Regions from separate parts of the Homo sapiens genome. Here region 2 is linked to region 1. Evidence: promoter capture Hi-C in 16 types of primary human blood cells and fetal thymus (Javierre and others, 2016). All regions are on one chromosome and are shown on one strand. The core of a region is centred on a gene start or on the middle of the fragment in contact, and the rest is flanking DNA. Distances in the headings are between cores, read along the strand shown.

Region 1 (3,013 bases), core at 74-2,573:
TCTGGCTCTTTTTCTGGGCTGTGAGGGAGTCTAGATGTTGCTGAATTCAGAACTCCAAACCCTGGCACTCATACTGGTCTTCCAGCTGCCACGTTCAGTCCTGCATCAGAAGCATACTTCAGGATCCCCATTACTTTTTCTTCAGGTCTCCGGCCGAACAAGCAGACCTTTAACCCTACAGACACTAATGCCTTGGTGGCAGCTGTTGCCTTTGGGAAAGGACTATCTAATTGGAGACCTTCAGGCAGCAGTGGTCCTGGCCAGGCAGGCCAGCCAGGAGCTGGGACGATCCTTGCAGGAACCTCAGGATTACAGCAGGTGCAGATGGCAGGAGCTCCAAGCCAGCAGCAGCCAATGCTCAGTGGGGTACAAATGGCTCAGGCAGGTCAACCAGGTAAGGTGGCAGGGGTTGAAATGAAGCTGACTTTGAGCAGGAGTGGGAGGGAATAAGCTAGATTATCTGGGCCTCCAGCATCTCTAGACCTAGAGGTTTTCTCTATTTCTCCTTTTCACTGTGACCCAGGAAATAATTTTCAGAAGTAAAAAAATCTCATCTGAGACTCTGCAACAGGCACCAGAGAGTGAGGAAGAACTTTGAGTAACAGAAACTGCTCCAATTTCTCATCCGCATCTCACATCTCTGTGTCAACTATCCTTCTATCCCATTTATTCTGGTATTAGATATGTTGTCAGTGTCTCTTGTTAGGTAGAGAAATCAGCAGTCAGATCTTAAGACCATTTGGTAGGTGCATCAGGAATTGACACGCAGGCCAGTTTTCCAGTCCTACATGTATTCTTTTCTCTGTATCCTGCCTCTCTTGCTCTTGGCTTCCTGCCTTCTCTCCTACTCATTTTTAGAACAGTCTAGATGCAGGCAGCTAGAAGAGTTATTTCCTCCAAGCTGTCTAGGAAAAGGGACAATTAAAGAGAGATTCTGCACTTATTATGATATAAAAAAAGAAAAACAATGAGAGAACATAGTACTCTTTTACCTGTGACGTTAAATGGGAGTCACACAGGTTTAGCTATCTGTTCTAGGAGTGGATGAACAGACTATTCTCCCATGTCACTTCTTTCCTCCTGGACACCTTCAGGGAGACAGCTGGGTGAAGAATCATACTTCTGACCTCTGTCAAACAGGGTCAGATGCCGCAGAGGTTCTGAGATGATAAAGGAAGTGACAGAGGGAACCTGAGGTACCACATTTCTGATTTGTCATGAAAGTCTTACCTTGCTTAAGATGACTTTTTTAATGTTCCTTTCAGGGAAAATGCCAAGTGGAATAAAAACCAACATCAAGTCGGCTTCCATGCATCCCTACCAGCGGTGAGTGTGGCTGGCAACCTCGACTCCCTGGTGCTCTTTGCAGAGTTGGGCAGTGAAATTACCTTTTGCTCAAGGCTCACCTAGATGGGTACAATAAAAAGAACATGGGCTTTCAGCAGCAGACAAATCCCACTTCCACCACTGACTAGCTGTGTGACCTTGGACAAGTGACCTAATTTTTCTGAGCCTGTTTCTCATTTGTAAATGGTGATAATACCTACCTCATAGGGTTGTTGTGAGGATTAAAATGAGGAAATGAATGTAAAGCACTTAGTACAGTATATGAAATAATGGGTATTCAATAAATGATAGTTTCTACAGATCCTTCTCCCCACCACCCTCCACAGTCCTTGATCCAGAACTTACCCTAATCTGATACTGCCTCACGTCAATGGTGAGCTGATGGACACAAGATCAAATAAGGCTATGCTTATTTTGTGCTGCCAGAAACTGTAGCAACCTCTGTGTTCTTAGAGGCACACTGTTTTTGCAGGCCCTCCTGCCTGGGTTTCATTCTGGCTATCCCTCTAAGGCGCAAGGTGAAGAAGCTTCTGGGCCAGGAAGGAAAAAAAAATGCCCACCTGCAGCTCTGGTGAAGCTTGGGCCTGCTCTCCTTTCCATCCTCTAAGGAGCCAACTTGGCTTTTACCTGTCAAATAGTCATAAAGTCCCCTATCCTTTACCCCACCTTATACACACGAGGCTTTCTCAGGAAGTGGCTCTGCCAGGCAGGACTATGTGGGAAAGGGTTTTTCCTTAGCACACGAAAAAGCCCCTTCCCCTGGATTCATGTTTCTTATTTTGGAGGGAGAAGGGAATTGCACTTCACACTGCCATCAGGGTTTAGTTGACCTCATAATGGTGCCCACTTTCTCGACTTTGGCCAGGATTTCCTTCAAAGAAAACGACTTTCCTTCATTTCCCTAAGCCTGTGGCCCAAATGGTGGACCAGAATGATGGTGGGAGGGGGCAACCCCCAGTAGCTTTGCCTGCTTTTATAAAGTTGAACAAATTGAATTTAGACATTCAGGCTAACCTGCCTTTCTTAGTACTCCTTTGTTGGCATGGGCAGGGGTTGAGTCAGCAGAAGTGGACCAAAGGATTCCTCTGAATAAAGTTATTTAAATTGATGTTCACTGGCTCAGGGTTGTCTGACAGTAATTTATGAGAGCACTACATAGGGATCAGAGGGGCAGTTTCAAGAGTGCTGCAAGGCAGTTCTAATTTGTTCTCCATAAAAAAGTTTCCGTATCTTTAATTAGCTTTGATCTAAAAATCCTGAAACTTCCCTCCTGCTCATACCTTCCAGCTGCCTTTTTTCTGTTCTGTCACACACTGGTACTTTGGCATTTGTTCAGTGCCAAACAAAGTTCTGCCAGGCTGTGGCAGCAAAGGACTGGAAAAGTGGTCCCAGATGTCACATCTGTTACCATTCCATCAAGGTGAGGAATGGTATCCACAAAGCTCACTGACCACAATACATAGCAGTAGGGGAGTCTGGTCACCAGCTCTAAGGCAATGCCAGACCTTTCCCCCACTTAAACTGTTCCGGCTCATCAGCCCACTCAGGTGTTATCTTCTCACCTCTTCCCTTCCCACTGGAAATGTCAGTATTAACTGGCATATTGGGTAGAGTTTGAGCTGTGCTTCTCTGAAATTCCTGGAGCATCTTTTGGTGACTATTGTCC
Region 2 (3,191 bases), core at 190-2,689, 470 kb after region 1:
TCCCACTCCCTTCTGTCCTGTAAGGTTTCTGCTGAGAAATCTGCTGATAATTTTATAAGAGCTCCCTTGTGCTTGATGAGTCACTTTACTCTTGCTGCCTTCAGAGTCTCTCTTTGACTTTTGACAGTTTATTATGTGTCTCAGGGATGGCTTCTTTGGATCATATATTGTATCCCATAAGTCCCTTAGGCTTTCTTAACTTTTCTTCATCTTTTCTTTTGTTTCCCCTGACTCAGTAATTTCAAATAACCTGTCTCAAATTTCCTGATTGTTTCTTCTGCTCAATTAGATCTGTTATGATCCCTTCTAGTGAATTGTTCAATTCAGTTATTGTTTTTTTCAACTCCAGAATTTCCATTTGGTCTTTTTCTTAACAGATTCTTTTTTTTCTTTTTAGAGACAGGGTCTCACTCTATTGCCCAGGCTGGTCTCAAACACCTGGGCTCATGTAATCCTCCTGCCTCAGCCTCCCAGAGTGCTGGAATTTCAGGCCTGAGCCACTGCACCCGGCCTCTGCGTCTTTGTTGGTATTCTGGTTTTTATGGGTCACTTCCTGGTTTCATTTGTGTATCTGATTCTCTTGTAGCCCACTGAGCCTCTTTAAGATGATTATTTTGAATTCGTTGTCAGGTAATTCATAGATCTCTGTTTCTTTAGGGTTCCATTTCTGATACATAGTTGGTCCTCTGGACCATGTTTCCCACTATCATCATATGTCTTGTTATTTTTTGCAAGAGTTTGTGGATTTGAAAAAATGACCATGTCTTCCAGTTTTAATGGATTGGCTTCATAAAGGGGAAAACCTTAAACATTCAGCTCAACTAACAGTTTGGGGGAGTGGTCTCTCAAACCTTTTCTGGAGATACGTATTCTTGGGCTTGTGCCTGTGATTTCCCAATTCGAGAGGTTTGCTGGTGTCTTTTCAGAAGCTTGTGGTCTCTTGCTCTCTCTGGTGTCTGTCTACAGTACTGCAAGTTCTCAGGGTCTACAACAAGCTGTTGATGTCTCTTGTTCTCAGCAGTCCCCAGGGGATGTGTATGTATGTATGTATATATATATATGTGTGTGTGTGTGTGTGTGTGTGTATGTGTATATATGTGTATATATATGTGTATATATGTATATATATGTGTATATATGTATATATGTGTATATATGTGTATATATACACATATACATATACACATATATGTATATATATACGTGTGTGTATATATATATATATATATAATTTTTTTTTTAACTTTATCAGCACTCAGTGTCAGGCAAGACAGAAACCGGTCCCTCAGGGAGCCCCCTGAAAAGCCTGAATGTTGGACGCACATTCTACTCTTCTGTTTCACTCTCAAGGTAGAAGCTTCAAGTTGGGCATTTACTCCTGAAAGCACCAAGCTGTACTGGCTTTGGGAAAGGGCTATTGTAGGTTAAATGAAAATGTTTCTTCTTACCCATTTTAATATAGCTGTTCTTGACTTTGAACTTGCCTCAGGCACTAGTTTCTAGAATTCTCATAAAAGCTTTTTGGACCATATATTAAGTCAGTGTCTATGGAGGAACAAGGTCTGAGATGTCCTATTATGCTGTATTACTGATGTTACTCCTCTCAGGAAGATTAGTTTTTGAAAAGAGTACATGCAGAAAGTAAAGATCGGGATTTGGACATCGATTCCCTTAAAGCTAAATATGTTCACATATTCCTTGGAAATTTTTTTGGACATCCACAGGTATGAATACCCAGTTTGAAGATAACCTTTTTGGAGGATTCAAATTAGTATTCTTTTGGCTGCCTTTGGGATTTTGTTTCCTAAGTCTGCCTTGAATGTGCTCTCAAAATACCTACTTCCTATACTGGATCTCTTCCACCCCCAAGCTGGGCACCTGGGTCAGAGGATGTGTCTGGCAGGCTTTGAATGGTATAATGGTTAATTTTATGTGTCAACTTGACTGGGTTAAGGAAGACCCAAATGGCTAGTAAAACATTATTTCTGGGTATGTTTTTAGAGTATTCCCAGAGATTAGCATTTGGGTCAGCGTACTGAGTAAAAATGATTCACCCACCCTAGTGTTAGCAGGTCTTATCCAACTCATTGAGGGCCCATCTGAATGGAATAAAAAGGTAGAGGAGGGGGGAATTCTCTCTCTCTCTCTTTAGCTGGGACATCCATTTCCTTCCTTTGGACATTGGAGCTCCTGATTCTTAGGCCTTCAGACTTCAGGAGTCAGAGCAGCAGCCACCTGGGTCTCAGGCCCCCAGCCTTGGATTGGGAGTTATATCATTGGCTCCCCTGTTTCTCAGGCTTTCAAATTCACACTGAATTTCACTACCATATTTCCTGTTTCTCCAGTGTGCAGGCAGTATATCATGGGACGGACTTCTTGGCCTCTACAATCACTTGAACCAATTCTTATAATATATCTGCCCTTAATATCTGTATAAATATCTTATTGGTTCTGGTTTTTTCGAGAACCCTGACTAATGCAGATTTCGATACTGAGAGTGGTTCTAGAGCAACAGAATTTTAAGGATGAGTTTGCTGAATTGGTTTTGGGGCTTATGGAATTGGCTCTTCAATCATCTTAGATTTCAAGATGCTAAGGACTCTATAGTAGTCTATTGCATGAACTATTTATAAAGATATGCATTAGATGCTCCTAGTTTACCAAATATAAGAAGTAAAAACCTAAGTAACTCTGTATATGATACTTTCAAACGTTTTTGGAAAACCAAGGAATATAATGCCATTGGTTGGTTGCTCCTAATGTCACTGAACAAAATGGTGAAAGAGGAGGATGAGCTCAGAGATTCAAATTACCAGCTTGAGCTTCAAATAAATGATCTAAGAGCTTCTACATGTGCCCTGAGGGAGAGCCTTATCTCCTAAAACCTCAGTACTGAAATTGCTGCAAATGAAACAGAAGATTTCATCTTGTAATTGGCTGAATTACAATGCAAATTGAACACGCAGCCTTACTACAGGGTGTAAGTAGGCAGCCTTACACCCTGCCTACTGTTGAAGTGAGGGTATTCATTGGGAAATAATGTCCCATCCAATATATTAGGATGGGGACTTAGGGGAAGACCCTAATGAAGCTGAGGACATTGAGTCTTAAATCCTGATAAGTCTCTTTTGCTAGTGGAAGAGTTCTTTCCACCCCCAGAAAAAGTTGCCTGCCTACTCTCAACAGAAGTG

What was found. The method cuts DNA at HindIII sites, captures the fragments that hold promoters and counts their contacts. A CHiCAGO score of 5 or more calls a contact.
Region 2: a contact is called between a fragment that was not itself captured here and the fragment with the promoter of MED8-AS1 in region 1, in 1 of 17 cell types (naive B cells). The highest score is 5.3, in naive B cells.

Annotation. Positions count from the first base shown.
Region 1 is chr1:43,383,359-43,386,371 of GRCh38, reverse strand. MED8-AS1 (MED8 antisense RNA 1) reads right to left here and starts at 1,323. Exons shown (of 2, transcript XR_001738027.1): 1 at 1,231-1,323; 2 at 646-1,088. MED8 (mediator complex subunit 8) reads left to right here. Exons shown (of 7, transcript NM_201542.5): 6 at 146-394; 7 at 1,266-2,455. The coding sequence ends at 1,330. The HindIII fragment of the contact is 5,225 bases long and covers 1-1,876 here.
Region 2 is chr1:42,911,306-42,914,496 of GRCh38, reverse strand. No RefSeq gene overlaps it. Among named protein-coding and RNA genes, the nearest start is that of SLC2A1, 46 kb to the left of the region's middle. The HindIII fragment of the contact is 160 bases long and covers 1,360-1,519 here.